Linked DNA regions of Homo sapiens: all the other regions are linked to region 1. The links are contacts of gene promoters, found by promoter capture Hi-C in blood cells and fetal thymus (Javierre and others, 2016). All regions are on one chromosome and are shown on one strand. The core of a region is centred on a gene start or on the middle of the fragment in contact, and the rest is flanking DNA. Distances in the headings are between cores, read along the strand shown. Region 1 holds the start of PARP4 (poly(ADP-ribose) polymerase family member 4). Region 2 overlaps TNFRSF19 (TNF receptor superfamily member 19). Region 3 overlaps NUP58 (nucleoporin 58). Region 4 has its middle 5.9 kb from the start of MTMR6.

Region 1 (3,840 bases), core at 976-3,475:
CAAAAAAAAAAAAAAAAAAGTGTTCACTATTAGAAATACACTTTAATTAAAATGCTTGTACATATATTTTTTTGCCACATCTCTGTCATAGTTTCCCTAGAGTTGATGGCCAGAAATGGAATTACTGAATCAAGGAGTATAAACATTTTTTAGCCTTTTAAAAATTGTGGTACAGTTTTTAAAACTGTGTGTACAGTTCAGTGGCATTAAGTACATACACATAGTTGTGAAATCAAAGTATAAACATTTTATTTTATTTGAGACAGGGTCTGGCTCTGTCTCCCAAGCTGGAGTGCAGTGGTGTGGTCACTGTCACAGCTCACTGCAACCTCGACCTCCCTCCCAGCAATCCTTTCACCCGGCCTACTTAGTAGCTGGGACCACAGGCCTGCACCACCATGCCCAGCTAATTTTGGTAGAGACAGGGTTCTTACTATGTTGCCAAGGCTGGTCACAAACTCCTGGGCTCAAGCCATCCTCCTGCCTCAGCCTCCCAGAGTGCTGGGGTTACAGGTGTGAGCTGCCACGCCCGGCCCAGAGTAAAAACATTTTAAACATAAATCTGCGGTCTGTTCTTAGCACCTGCGGCTGCGTGGGAGGTATGGAAAGGCGCACTTTGGGTTTCGTGAAATCTCAAGTCAGGTCTTGACTTCTCTCTTTCCACAGATTCATCTCTAGTCTCTGTAAAATGCCAGCCCTCTTCTGGGTTAACAGCGCCTAACCGACATGCGCCACTAGTTCTTCCTTGTTTCAAAGTGTTCTCTAAACACAGAGTTAGTTCATGTTTTCATCAGCGCTGATTACGTACATATGAGATGTGGCGGACACTGGGCTAGGGGCTGGTTATTCTCTAAGGCAAATCTGCACAGTCACTCCAGCCTGTCCCCCTTCCCAGCTTCTTCCCCAAATAACATTCACAGAGTGTCTTCCACCCAAAGACAGCAGGGAACAGCCCCGATTCCTAAGAAACCCTCAGCGCGCCTCCTCACAAACTCTTGGCTGCTCCATAAACCATTGGTGTAGGTGGAATCAAGTGGCTTCCTGCTTCACAGGTCTTCGTCTTTACCACTGGCATTTCCTCCTCTCGGAAAACCCTGAGGAGTCCCTTTCTGGGCAGTCTTGATTCTACAGCCTCCGCCTTCCGAAGTGTGTGAGTCAGCACACGCTAAGATCACTTTTGATATACAGTGGGCATTCAATAAAAGCTTGCTTACTAAAAACTCTCACGTATCCATTAAAGCCCAGGATTACAGAAAAGCCTTCTGACACTATTTGCATTTTGGACTCAAATGGCATCAGTAATGCACCTCCCTAATGGGTTTATTAAACCCTTAAACAACAAAGGTACTACTTTTATTTCACTCCTACATGATATACAGTAGCTCTACGCACACAAACAAGACCTAATGTTTACTTAATAAATGATAAAGTCAGATGTAATGAGTCTGCAACACGCACATCTCAGAGCGAACTTCCCCTTTATCATAGCACTATGCTTGGATATTGTCATATAATTGTTGTCATCCAGCAGTCCAGAATTGAAAGTGCTTGGGCTTGAATATTTAGCAGCGCCTTAGTTTTCTAGAACCTGTGATCTACCAACTCGATCCCTGGGTGAACCATTCGGCCCTCCTAGCAGGAATTACTTAACTGAGTTAGAGGTTTTCAACTTTGGACCTCAACAAACACATTGTTTCTATCACGGTGTTCCCAATGACTCACGAGGTCAGATAGTACTTCCTGATTACTCACCAAACCACCTTACTTTTTGCACAATTCGAAACCTAACTTTAGGAAAGAAGGCCGTTTGGCATACTGGAAACAAGAAACAACGCGTGCTACTGCGAACCGCACCGCACGGGGTGCGGAGACTTGGTGTGACTGTCGGCTCCGGTGGGCGCCCCCCACCGCACCCGGTTTCTCGTCACCAGGGCTGCGCCGCGGGGCAGAGCGGAACGACCGCAATATCCCTCCCCGAGGGCGCTGGCTGCACTAGCTAGTCCACTCCCGAGCCTAGCAGCGCCGTCAGGCCCACAGCGCCAACGCCGCGCAGGGCAAGGGTGCAGCCACTGGCGGGAAAGTAGTACGCGGGCCACTTCCTGGCTAGGACTACAGGGACCTTTGCAGCCCCCCACCCCGCAGCGCCCACGCACCTGCCTAGAGGATCCAGCTAGCTCCGGACGCTCCCCGATTCCGCGCTCCTTGCTCGCGGTACTTCCGTAATCTAGGCTCTCCCTGCCCCCGGGGCTGGGCGGGCGCCACTGCGCCGGAACCCCGCCCCGCACCAGGCGGGCGCAGCGTCCCAAGCAGGGACGATAGCCGGAACGCGCCCGGAATCGGGTCCGCCAGGTGGGGAGCGGGTCCCCGGCCTCTGGCGGGGTTTCTCTTCCAAGATCAGCCGGAGGGTTCAGGGCTTTCAGTTTCATATTTCAGGAGGGATTTTGTCAATGAGGATTAATACAAAGCTCGGCTTTGAGAGAGGTGGGTGGATGGTGCTGTCCTTTAACTGAGAAATGGAAGGGATTCACAAGGCCGGGAAAGAAGAAAATTTCGGGAAAGTTCGTGGAAACAGGAGAGTGAGATAATAAATTTACTTTAAGCCTTCCTGCGTTTGAAATTCGTGACAGTGTAACTAGTTGGAAATATATTTATCTGCCATTCAAGAGAGGCAGGGGGCTGGAGATACAGATCTGAGATTCACTGAAATGGGAATAAAGCAATGGGGAAGATTCAGATTTTTAGGATACTGAATAAAATGAGAATAGAAAGGATAGAGTAGAGAATACAGTGGAAAGGGTATGGGGTTGAATCCTGACTCCACAATTTATTACCAAGGGGGCTGGGGACAAGGTAATTTACCAAGTTTCATCATTACAACCTACTCTATAGGGTTGTCTAAGAAACAACAAGAGATTCTGGGGGAGGAGAGAGACTGATTCCTAGAGTTACCACATCGTAATGCTCAAAATGTCCAATCTTCAACAAAAAATTATGAGGCATGCAAAAAAAAAGGCGAAAAAATGGCCAATTCAAAGGAAAAAAGAAATGAACAGAAATTGTCCCTGAGCTGAGGAAGCACAGACATAGGAATTATTAGACAAATACTTCAAATAAACTGTCTTAAACATGGACAAAAAGTGAAAGGAAACATAGAAAAATAACTGAAAGAAACAACCAGGAGAACAAAGTCTCAATAAATAGAGAATATGCAATAGAAGATGTGCAAATGGTCAACAAGCATGAAAAAAAGCCCAGCATAACTAATTATCAGAAAAGTGCAAATTAAAACTGCAATGAGATACCATCTTACACCAGTCAGAATGGTTATTATTAAAAAGTCAAGGAACAACAGATGCTGGCAAGGCTTTATTGAAAAGGAAATGCTTATACACTGTCAGTGGGAATGTAAATTAGTTGAACCACTGTGGAAACCAGTTTGAAGATTTCTCAAAGTGCTGAAAACAGAACTGCTATTCAACCCAGCTATCCCATTACTGGGTACATATTCAAAACAAGAGAACTCATTCTACCAAAAAGACACATGCACTAGTATGTTCGTCACAGCACGCTTCACAATAGGAAAGACATGGAATGAACTTAGGTGCTCATCGACAATGGACTGGATAAAGAAAATGTGGTACATTTGCACCATGGAATACTACGAAGCCATAAAAAGAATGAATGGAATCATGTCCTTCACAGCAACGTGACTGCAACTGGAGGCCATTGTCGTAAGTGAATTAATGAAGGAACAGAAAACCAAATACCACATGTTCTAATTTGTAAGTGGGAGCTAAACACTGGGTACTCATGGATATAAAGATGGCAACAATAGACACT
Region 2 (3,840 bases), core at 853-3,352, 930 kb before region 1:
GGCATTGTAAGAGGATATATTGCTACTAAGAATGGCTATTTAGTAAGTGCTAGGCATTGGCCTAAGCACTTTAAATACCTTATCTATTAATACTTACCAACCATCAATGAAGCAACTCATTTTACATATGGAGAACCAGAAACTTAGAGAGGTTAAGTAACTTTTCCAAAGTCATGCAACTACTGAATGACAGGTTGGCATTGGGACCAGATTGTCAGATGCCCAAGCCCATTCAGGCTAACAATAGGTTCTCTCTCTGTTGTAAGCTAACAGGCTAACCGGGAAGATCAGTCAAAACACGTAAAATGATTCAAGAACTAATGAACTGAGTAATGTGTTACTACTGTCTCTAAGGACAAAAGGAGGTCAGAGAGAAGAAGAACATTTGGTTGAAGTCAGAGAAGGTAGTTCCTGAGCTGGCAGATTCAATTCCACTCAGAAAGCTTTGGTTGAACATTTATTTGAATGATTGATACTGTCAGAGATACAAATCGGAACAAAATATGCCCCTTCTCTGAAAGTGTTTTTAACTCCTTGAAGAAGAAAGTTAGTACACAGAATCTTATGATACAGGACACAATGGGCAAGTGCTAAATTGCCACAAACCTTGGAGCAAGGAAATACATAGGCTCAGAATTGAGGGAAAACTCGTGAGAGCCGTGGCTTTTGAGCGAGGTGCTGAAACTGGAGTAAGACAAGTAGGTAAAGCTCAGAGGTAAGATGGGAGAGCACGAAGAGGAAGTAGAGAGCAAAGGAAGGGCCACGCGGCGCAGTTTATAAAGCCTGCTCCAGAGGCGAGGCAAGGCTGGAAATAGGTGTAGGGCTGCACCTGGACATCTCGGAATGCTAATCTAAGGAGCGCAGAATCCATTCTTTACAGTGAGGAACCTCCTGTGACTCTTCAGCCTGACAGTAGCAGTGATGAAAGGCGGGAAGCGGGGTTGATGACCGAGGCAGTGCTGTGGTGAGGGGTGGGGAGGGTCTGCATGGTGGTGAAGGAGGTGGTGGGCACCAAGACAAAGAGAGGACGATGGGGGACTGCGTGAGACCTTGCAAAGGAAGATGCAGTAACTCAGCTTAGAAGTGCTGAGTATCCATCGTGTGCTAGGCCCCGGGATATCAAGGAATTAGGAGATGCCCTCGGGAGATCCAGGTGTAGCTGGGGAAGGAAACAGATAAAGAAGTTCAGCGGGATGTGGGAATGAATATGGTAGTGATGTGCACTGAGGGCTGGAGTCTGATCGGGTAGCCGCTGGGAGATGGGACAGGGAAGCACACACTTGCCTTGAGGTTCAAATTAGATAACGTACATCATTTGGAAATCGTTTACCAATAAGTCGTTATTGGGATCTATATTCTGGATGTGTTAGATTTGAAATATACAACCTCTATCAAGGTGTGACATCGGGAATAATATTTTTAACATTGTTCACAAGTACCTAGTATAGTGCTACGCCGTTGGAAGCCTGGGATCACAAGCTGTGCTTTTGGGCAATTAAATACAACAACCTATTCACTCATTCATTCAACAAATACTGATGGAGGGGCTCCAGTGGGCCTTGGGGTATAGACAAGAAACAGGGACTTGGGTCCATCCACACAGTGCAGTTGAGTGGGAAGTCAAAACCAACACGTGAGAAACGGTGGATGCCTTGGTACCAAAGTCATGCACCGTATCTTGGGTGAACGAATAGAACAATACTGCTTGCACTTTTACAGCATTCTACTGGTGGAAAAGTATTTTACAGACGCGATTCTCTTAACCCTTTCAGCAAAACTGCCCAGTGAGTCCCCGGCCCTGGCCCCGCCTCGCACGCGCTGGTGCTACAGCTGTGGTGCAGACGCCCTTCCGCTGCGAGGGTGCGGCCGTCTCGGGGCGAGTGCTTCCCGGCCTGCAGGAGGCGAACTCGGGCTTCCCCGGGAGGCGTCCGTGGGAACGCGCACCTGCGAGTCCCTGCCGGCTGAGGAGCCGAGGTCTGCGACCTCTGCCGACCTGAGCTCAGGCGCAGCAGCGCAGACCTGGCCGCCGTATCCCCTCTGGCTGGGATGCGGGCCCACGCGGGAAAGGCTGAAAGGTGGGGAACACCCCGGCGGAAAGGAACCCTCCCTCTCTGCTCTGAAGGAAAGTTTCCCAACACAGCCATGTTCTTGGTGGTCTCCGGTCCCCCATCCCCAAGCCCCCAGTCAGCCTCACACTCATCCGCTTCAGTAGCCGCGGAGTGGGGGCCTCCAAAGAACCCAGCTGCAGAGCAAGTCCGGCTGACGCAGTGTGCGCTGGGGGCGGGGCTCTGGACGGGGGCGGAGCCACGGCGAGAGCCGCGGTGAGGGCGGGGCCCGGGTGGGCGGTGCCCTGAGCGGGGCTCCTAGTGGGCGGGGCTCTGGGGTGGCGGCCGTTGCCGGGCTACGGGAGAGCGCGGAGCCCTGCGCTGGGAGGTGCACGGTGTGCACGCTGGACTGGACCCCCATGCAACCCCGCGCCCTGCGCCTTAACCAGGACTGCTCCGCGCGCCCCTGAGCCTCGGGCTCCGGCCCGGACCTGCAGCCTCCCAGGTGGCTGGGAAGGTAGGTGCGTCGCTGTCCCCGGCGCGCGGCGTCCCGCGAGGTCTTCAGCCCTCGCCCTGGTGGATCCCCGCTGGGTGGGAGCCGGGAGTGGAGGCGGCCGCCCTAGGGAGGGAGGAGCGCAGGCGGGGGCTGCTCACGGGCGGAGTACTGCGCGGCGAAGGGAACCCCCGAAGGGGCTGACCGGGTCTCGGGGCCGTGACAGGCGGCGAGGCGGTGGGAGGGGAGCGTGTGAATTCACGCCGGGTCCCCGCGGGCGACGCGAGCGACGCGACCTGGACTCCTATCCGGGATATTGTAAATAGATCTGCTTGTGAGGCTCACGACTGGGAGCCTGTCACTCTGCCCAAGCCCGACCCGGCCCCGGCGCCCGCCCGCGTCCTGCGGAGGTCCCCTGAGCCAGCGCGCGGCTGCAGGGGTCTCGGGGCCGCATCCCGGACCAGCGCCAGCGGCGGGAGAGCGTTGTCTGTGAGCGGCCCAGGGTATATTCCTTCTGTGGGAAAGAGTTCCTTAGAGTTCAGCAGGAATTATTAGTATATTGATGAGTAGAGCCTGTGATAGATTTAGAGAGTGAGAAAGCCAGCTCTTACAATGCGTGTAATGCCATCTCATGGGACAGAAATTTGGCTAATATACTCCTGGAGATCAAGTTTGGCGGATCAAAATTCTGTGATCTGTTTTGATGGTAGTGCACTAGTCATCCAGTCTCCGTTCACTATTGTAAGAAACCCATGTCATTTGTTTGCATGTTAATAAAGGACTCAATATGCATACAAAATCATCACCATTGTTCAGTGTTTCTTTTAACTGAAACAGTTTAACCCAAGATATGTATGAAGACGTAGTTTTTACCCCATGACAGTTTCTTTGACTACAAAACCAAACAATTTCTTTATGTAAACAGGAAACAGTTATTGTTAAACATACCTCATGCAAACGATATTTCTTAGTGTTGTCATTTCATGATCAGATATTAGATGCAAAAGGGAGGATTACATTGCGTTACTTCAGGATTTACTCAGTACCTTTTCTGTGGTGCAGTTTCACCTTAGGCGTTTTTGCCAACACTGCTTTCATGTAGTCTTAAAAATTCCAGGCAGTGCTTATTATCTAATTGAAAGGTATAGAACTGGAGGGGTGAGAATTGAGTCCTAGTGTGGAAGACAATTTTTGACATTCACAGAGATGTGAGTACTTAAAAAGAAAGCTTCTTTGCATAACACTTATCAAATTGTTCTGAAAGTAAAACAAAACATAGAAATGCATTTTCATTTGCACAAT
Region 3 (3,840 bases), core at 997-3,496, 800 kb after region 1:
AGGCATTTAGTGACAGGGGAAGACAAAGACTTGGCATAAACCTTGCCTGGCTTATGATTCATTTAATATGAAGGTGAAGTTGGTGGCCTGGGTTGAAGACAATATTGCTATCTAGAATCAGTTACCTGGTACCATTCTAATACTCCTCAAAGCCCTTATTTCTGTCGCAGATTTTTGCTTTGAAGCTGCTATTTCTCTTTATTCTTAAGTATGTAATTTTTAGCAAGTAGTTCTTCCAAAGAGCCAATTTTATCATGGATGTCAGTTTTTAAAAACATCGTATTTGTATTTTTCTATGGTGCTGTTAAATAAGTTGCCTTTTGAAAGCTTACTATCTCTCTTTTTATAGCATCCACAGGATTTACTCTAAATAATTTGGGTGGGACAACAGCCACAACTACAACTGCATCAACAGGCCTCTCTTTAGGGGGAGCCTTAGCTGGTTTGGGAGGTTCACTTTTCCAGAGTACAAACACAGGAACATCAGGTAATTGATGGTATTTATTCTCCAGAATAGTAAATATTTATATTTAAATGTACTTATTTTTATTTTAGTACTTTGAGCAGGTCACTTTTTAATCTGCATATTTTCCTTTAAATATGAAAACTAAATTATAAAATGATGGTTTTCATACATAATTGGATGTATTAACCGTATTTTATTTATTTATTTATTTATTTTGAGATGGAGTCTTGCTCTGTCACCCAGGCTGGAGTGCAGTGGCGTGATCTTGGTTCACTGTAACCTCCACCTCCAGGGTTCAAGAGAGATTCTCCTGCCTCAGCCTCCTGAGTAGCTGGGATTACAGGTGTGTGCCAGCACACCTGGCTTATTTTTGTATTTTTAGTAGAGATGAGGGGGTTCACCATGTTGGCCAAGCTGGTCTCAAACTTCTGACCTCAAGTGATCCGGCTGCCTTGGCCTCCCAAAGTGCTGAGATTACAGGCGTAAGCCACCGCACCCAGCCTATTAGCCATATTTTAGAAATACATTTTCCTCTTTCTCAATATTGACTAACCAGATAAGGAAACAAAGAAGAGCCTGTTTAAGGAGTCAGTAAACTGATCTAGAGATAACATCTCTTCTAAAAAGAACAAAAATTGTATTAGCTCAGTAATGCATGGTCTTATAAAAGTATAGATTTATTAGGCTGGACACGGTGGCTCACACCTGTAATCCCAGCACTTTGGGAGGCCAAGGCAGGTGGGTCATCTGAGGTCAGGAGTTCGAGACCAGCCTGACCAACATGGTGAAACCGCATCTCTACTAAAAATACAAAATTAGCTGGGCATGGTGATGCATGCCTGTAATCCAAGCTGTTTGGGAGGCTGAGGCAGGACAATCACTTGAACCTGGGAGGCAGAGGTTGCAGTGAGCCGAGATCATGCCATTGCACTCCAGCCTGGGCAACAAGAGCGAAACTCCATCTCAAAAACAATAATAACAATAAAAAAGAAATACAGATTTATCAACACAAGATGCTTGAAATTTTGCGCTTGACTCACAAGTGTACGTTAATGACTTATGATTAACCGTAGTCTGGTCCTTTTTATTCCTTTTGTCAGTGAGGGAAGATGTAAATAAGCAAATGAATTCTAATACTTTTTTTTAAGTTTTGTGAAACGAACTTGGGAGTATGAAATTATATTCAATACATGTTATATTCAAATGTTATAAATTCACACTAGATTATCTTAAAAGTATGTAGTTCCAAAGTGTGTTTGTAAGACAAGATGTATTCACCTGAAAATACACCAACTGAAACTGCTTTTGTAGAGAGGGTTTAAAAGCCCTCTGTAACAAAACCCCTTTATAACAAGTGAAGATTGAGTGCCTACATACTGAATTGATATATGTTCTGGCCCTCGTAATAATGAAAAATCGCATCATCCAAACTGCATATGCCATCGAATTCAAGAAAGGTTATCAGTCTTTGGCCAAAACATCTCCAGGCTTGTTTCTTGTTGTTTGCCTAAATCAAATATGAAGAAAATCTAGGATCCAACTTTAAAAGCATTAGAGTCCTTTGATCAGTAAGGGGAAATTGTTGTAGTCTTTTGATGGAATTTATAAGTTATGTTTTATTTATAGGACTTGGACAGAATGCTTTAGGGTTGACTTTGGGAACTACAGCAGCTACTTCAACTGCAGGCAATGAAGGCCTTGGTGGTATAGATTTCAGTAGCTCCTCAGATAAAAAGAGTAAGTAATGCTGTTGTAACTTTATGTTTTAACAGTTCTGTTGAGGGAATGTCTAGGTTGCTCAAAATTCCTTTGTGTGGAAGATTAGCAGTTATATATTTAGTAGTAACAGTTAGCTATCTTAATGTGTATACGAATATGTATTTTTTAATAGGGATCATGATACATATGCAGTATTGTTTTGTAGTCTGTTCTTATCTAACATCAGAAGCATTTGTCTGTCAGTAACTCTTTTTAAATATTTTAATGCTGCTTAATATCAGTTTTATGGATGGATAAGTTAGTCAACCATTGTTCTCTTGTTAGATGTTTATTTCCAGATGTTTTACTTTGGGAAGTAAAACACTGGGCATTTATCTAAAAAGGCAACATAATATAGTAGTTTAAGAGTGTCTGCTCTGGAGTGGAATTGCCCGGGTTCAGATCCTGGCTCAACTGCTTATAAGCTCTCTGACCTTATTGAAGTTACTTATATTATGTGCTTTGGTTTTTCCTTATCTGTTAAATGGTTTGAGGGTTACTATTTGTAAAACCCTAGCAGAGCCAGACATGTAGGTGTCTCCTTTTATTATCAATGCTTGTTTATATTTTTGGTTATTTCTTAGGGAAAATACCTGGAAATTGGATCATTGGCTTAAAGAGAGGGATATTTTGGAGACTCTTAGTGTATAGTTTGTGAAATCGCTTTCCCAGAAAGATTTTACCAGTTTACCCCCTAACCAGTATGAAAATACCTTTCTTGCTGTGCCCTTGCCACGTTGAATCTTGGTTTTAAAAATTTGCTAATCCAAATTCATTTTGAAAATGTTTTCATTGTTTTTTGTGTTACTTTGTTTTGCACCATCTCTTCTGCTTCTGATGAAAGCATGTTTCACTAGAATATATACCATATATACTAGGGTATATATATACATATTGAACTTCTCTGAAGAAAGATAAATGGATGAAGCTGTGAAATAGTATCTGTGTATCTATATGACTTTTTTTTTAAAAAACTGGACACAGGTTTTATTATAAGGAGATACTATTCTAGGGTGAATTACTATTTTAAAGTTGGTAAAACCTTTTTAAACTTTTACAAAGTTTAGATTTCTCTTTCAGTGAAAATTGACAAATTTCTAAACAAAGTTTGTTTTTACTTAGTTTTCTCTGTAGCAACTCCATAATTAGGAAAGCAGCCTTAGCAGCTTATTTGTTTACTCAAGTGGAATAGCTTGGTACCACTTCTATTACTTTTATTTTAAGCATGAGAGTACTTCTCTATTATAATTGTTTTTAGGCTCAAAGAGCAGGCTAAGGCAGAAGAGTAAGATAAATGTAAGAAATTAATCTCCCCTCCTCTGCCCCTCCCCACATCTTCCTGCTTTCATAGTGTACCTAAGATAGAGTTGAGCAAGGAGAATATATACAATAAATGAAATAAATGTCTTAGATATGACATTAAATTTTATAAATATTTATGTACACACAAACATGTATATAAATAACTTGGGTGTGTTTCTACTATGGATCTCTGATTACTACATCCCAGTTCCCTTTTATCTATTGCTTATATCAAGGGATTCTTTTTTTTTAATCCAAATGATTTCTGTGTTTCTAGTAGCTGTATCAGTTAGCTTGGGCCCTGCAGTACCAGT
Region 4 (3,840 bases), core at 962-3,461, 780 kb after region 1:
CCTGCTCTGATACATGTAAGAGCTCATCTCTCCTAGGTGAATAATAGTTTTCATTTATTTATGTATTTCTTGTAATTTTTGCTTCCTGAACCCTATTCCTTTTAGGTTCTCTCTACGTTTGCTGTTTTGGTCTCTGACTTTGATGTCAGAAGCGATCCTCCAATATCTAATCATCTTTAATGGTCCTTTCCAGCAATAAAATGCTGATTGGAAACTTACTCTTTATAGGAGAATTTGCCTATTGTTAAGCTTCATTATTGAATGATGGGGTAGGGGCTTGGTACTTTTGTTGGGGGTCCCTACATCATTATTTGAAGACCCTGTGCATGTGAAAGGCACAGGGAGCTCTGGGAACAGATGTCCTGTTAGCAGCAGTAGCTGAGTAGAAGCCCCAGTCAGGTACCATATATAGGATCCAGATGATCCAGGCCATCTGCCTCTCTGTTGCCAGCTCTCCCCTTGGTGATTACTGCAAGGAACAAAGAGACCCATTTCCCCTCAATACAAGGGGTGGGAAATGAAGAGACATTGGAAAGAGAAGAGGTTCATTCACTAATATTTGTTTTATTGTTAGTAATATTTATAAAGCACACGATCCAGTTTCAGAGGATTCAATATGCACCTGTGTTCCTACATTCCTATCCTTCCCTTTAAAAATGTTGACATACAATAAAATTCATCAGATTAAGCATTTTCTGCTGCCTGATCTCATCAATTATGCCAAGAGCACACTTAATACTGTTACAATTCAATTGAGTAGTCCACTGCAACTTACAAACTAATCTGAAGGAAGATAATCAGGAAGAGACTTGTTTTTAGGGTTAGTTAGACTGGTGAATATCAAAATACCAGTGTAATCATTGACCACAAGAAAGCAGATGGGAATGAAAGTCAGCATGTTCTCTTCCTATAAAGCGTGGGGGGAGGTCACATTACAGTTGAGAAGATTGCTTAGTTAGCATGAATTCAGAGCAGGGGAAACTAGCTGCATGATAGGAGAGGCTGTTGCCATTCAGCAAAGATCTTGATGCATCAGCCAGCCTATCAGGATGTACCAACCACAAGAAAAGGCAGGAGGGGCTCTGGGCCAGGCAAGCCTCTGGAGGCAGCCCTGAAGATTCATTATTTGAGGGAAATATTAGATTTCCCTAAACTAGGCCTCATTATTGAACAATCCTCCCTCTAAGGGCCCTATTCTGCCTTTAGATATGCCATTTCATCTGCTAGGTTCATATCAAGATGTGGTATAGAAGCTATGCTGTCTTTTTAAGGAGACATATCTGTAACTTAATTAATTTTGTTTTAATGTATATATTTATAATTTCCTTTATCATCCAACTTCTAGGAGACATCAGGTTTTTTCTTACATGTGCCTACAAAAACAACTTAAAATAGTGACATGACTAATATTTGATGATTTTAAGAAAATATCATTTTCTTAATTGACTTTGCAATTAAAGACGGAGTTTTTTTGCACAAAAAATTGAAAGTTAAAATTCACAAAAAGCATGAAAGAAACTACTATTACGGTTTGAAATAATGAGGAATCAGATTTTTTTTTTTTTTGAGACAGAGTCTCACTCTGTTGCCCAGGCTGGAGTGCAGTGGCGCCATCTCAGCTCACCGTAAGCTCTGCCCCCTGGGTTCAAGCCTCAGTCTCCTGAGTAGCTGGGACTACAGGTGTGCGTTACCACACCCAACTAATTTTGTATTTTTTAGTGGAGACGGGGTATCGCCATGTTGGCCGGGCTGGTCTCGTACTCCTGTACTCAAGTGATCTGCCCACCTCGGCCTCCCAAAGTGCTAGGATTACAGGCATGAGCCACCATGTAATCAGAGTTTTCTGCATTTGTTTCTCTGTAATGTTTAATGCTTATTTTTACACCACTAAAAAAAAAATGAAAAGTGCCCCTATAAAAGGCACAAGAGATATTTGATATTTTTATTATTATGTAAGAAAATATTTTACATTTAACAATAAAATATTGGTGCTTTTTTTGGGGGGGAGGCTTAAACAACAGAAATTTATTGTCTTGCATTTTTTTTTTTTTTTCTTTAAGTTCTGGGATACATGTGCAGAATGTGCAGGTTTGTTACATATGTATTAATGTGGCATGGTGATTCGCTGTACCTATCAACTCATCATCTAGGTTGTTTTGTTGTTGTTGTTGTTGTTGTTGTTTTGAGATGGAGTCTTGCTCTGTCGCCCAGGCTGGAATGCAGTGCATGATGATCTCGACTCACTGCAACCTCTGCCCCCTGGGTTCAATCGATTCTCCTGCCTCAGCCTCCTGAGTAGCTGGGACTACAGGCACGTGCCACCACGCCCAGCTAATTTTTTGTATTTTTAGTAGAGATGGGGTTTCACCTTGTTAGCCAGGATGGTCTCGATCTCCTGACCTCGTGACCCGCCGGCCTCCGCCTCCCAAAGTGCTGGGATTATAGGCGTGAGCCACCGCACCCTGCCGGCCCATCTAGATTTTAAGCCTTGCATGCATTAGGTATTTGTCCTAATGCTCTCCCTCCCCTTGCCCCCTAACCCCTGAAAGGCCCCAGTGTATGATGTTCCCCTCCCTGTGTCCATGTGTTCTCATTGTTCAACTCCCACTTATGAGTGAGAACATGCGGTGTTTGTTTTGCGGCTCCTGTGTGTTTGCTGAGAATGATGGCTTCCAGCTTCATTCATGTCCCTGCAAAGGACATGAACTCATTCTTTTTATGGCTGCATAGTATTCCATGGTGTATATGTGCCACATTTTCTTTATCCAGTCTATCACTGATGGGCATTTGGGTTGGTTCCAAGTCTTTTGCTATTGTAAATAGTGGATGCTTTTATAATTATGTTTACTGTTTACCAGCGAATGGAATATTATAAAAGCAATCACAATTCCTAATCTTGGTGCTTCTTAAGTAAGCATAAATCGTTAAAAGAGCAAAAATATTTCACTTGATTTCGTTTCTTGGCTTTTATTTCTAGGAGTTTTATGGAAGAAGGTGAAGTCTATGATTAGAATTCTCTGTGAAATCAAAGATATCTGAATTCAGATCTCATTTCTGCCACTTTCTAGCTGTGAATTTAGTCAAATTATTTAACTTCTCTAACTCTTGATGTCCTTATCTGTAAATAGTGGTACTTATCATTATGTTATCCATTGAGTTATTTGTACAGGTTAATGAAATAATGAACAGAAGTACTTAGCATAGTAGCTGGCCTCGATAAGTGCTCAATAGCTGGATATAGCAGCCTTTGCCTATAGTCCCAGCTACTCAGGAGGCTAAGGCAGGAGCAATCAGAGCTCACTCAGCTCACTTGAGCCCAGCAGTTCGAGGCTGCAGTGAGCTATGATTGCACTATTGCACTCCAGCCTAGGTGACAGAGGAAGACCCCCATCTCTAAAAATAATAATAATAAATAAATGCTCAATAAATAATAGTTGTGTGTATGTACATGTTAAGCAGAATAAATCCTAGAGTTCCCAGAAATATCTAGATACCTGTCGATCCTCATTCTAGATCTTCACCATGGAGTTCAGAAATGTGCTTGGATCAGGCTGTGTTCATTTGGGGAGACTGAACTTGTCTCAGGATGAAATTTGTCTGAATGCACTGTATACTGTATTCAAGTGATCACATTATGTACTCTGCACCTCTGCAATTGAGGAGGTACACCTGGCCCAAGGAAGTGCACATGTCCAGGTTATACTCATGCTGGGCTGGAGGAAGACATACTAGTATTATGTTTCCATAAGGTTGGTGTGATGCTTACTCTTTCAGGATCTAGGGGTTCAGAGACTGGCTCCTCATTCTGTCTTTAAAAAGGTTACTAGCCATTTTTTTTTC

Evidence for each region. The method cuts DNA at HindIII sites, captures the fragments that hold promoters and counts their contacts. A CHiCAGO score of 5 or more calls a contact.
Region 2: a fragment that was not itself captured here is called in contact with the fragment with the promoter of PARP4 in region 1 in 1 of 17 cell types (activated CD4 T cells); the score reaches 6.2 in activated CD4 T cells.
Region 3: a fragment that was not itself captured here is called in contact with the fragment with the promoter of PARP4 in region 1 in 1 of 17 cell types (neutrophils); the score reaches 8.2 in neutrophils.
Region 4: a contact is called between a fragment that was not itself captured here and the fragment with the promoter of PARP4 in region 1, in 2 of 17 cell types (neutrophils and monocytes). The highest score is 8.0, in neutrophils.

The regions. Positions count from the first base shown.
Region 1 is chr13:24,510,553-24,514,392 of GRCh38, forward strand. It overlaps PARP4 (poly(ADP-ribose) polymerase family member 4), which reads right to left and starts at 2,226. Exons shown (of 34, transcript NM_006437.4): 1 at 2,154-2,226. The region is part of intron 1 of LOC105370117 (a long non-coding RNA gene); the gene reads left to right. RefSeq lists a silencer at 2,224-2,383. The HindIII fragment of the contact is 3,630 bases long and covers 1,204-3,840 here.
Region 2 is chr13:23,576,968-23,580,807 of GRCh38, forward strand. All of the region lies in intron 1 of TNFRSF19 (TNF receptor superfamily member 19), which reads left to right. Among named protein-coding and RNA genes, the nearest start is that of TNFRSF19, 8.5 kb to the left of the region's middle. RefSeq lists silencers at 2,274-2,753, 2,954-3,013. The HindIII fragment of the contact is 3,323 bases long and covers 442-3,764 here.
Region 3 is chr13:25,313,265-25,317,104 of GRCh38, forward strand. NUP58 (nucleoporin 58) reads left to right here. Exons shown (of 16, transcript NM_014089.4): 5 at 350-487; 6 at 2,093-2,203. Among named protein-coding and RNA genes, the nearest start is that of NUP58, 14 kb to the left of the region's middle. The HindIII fragment of the contact is 3,842 bases long and covers 326-3,840 here.
Region 4 is chr13:25,291,481-25,295,320 of GRCh38, forward strand. No RefSeq gene overlaps it. Among named protein-coding and RNA genes, the nearest start is that of MTMR6, 5.9 kb to the left of the region's middle. The HindIII fragment of the contact is 3,928 bases long and covers 248-3,840 here.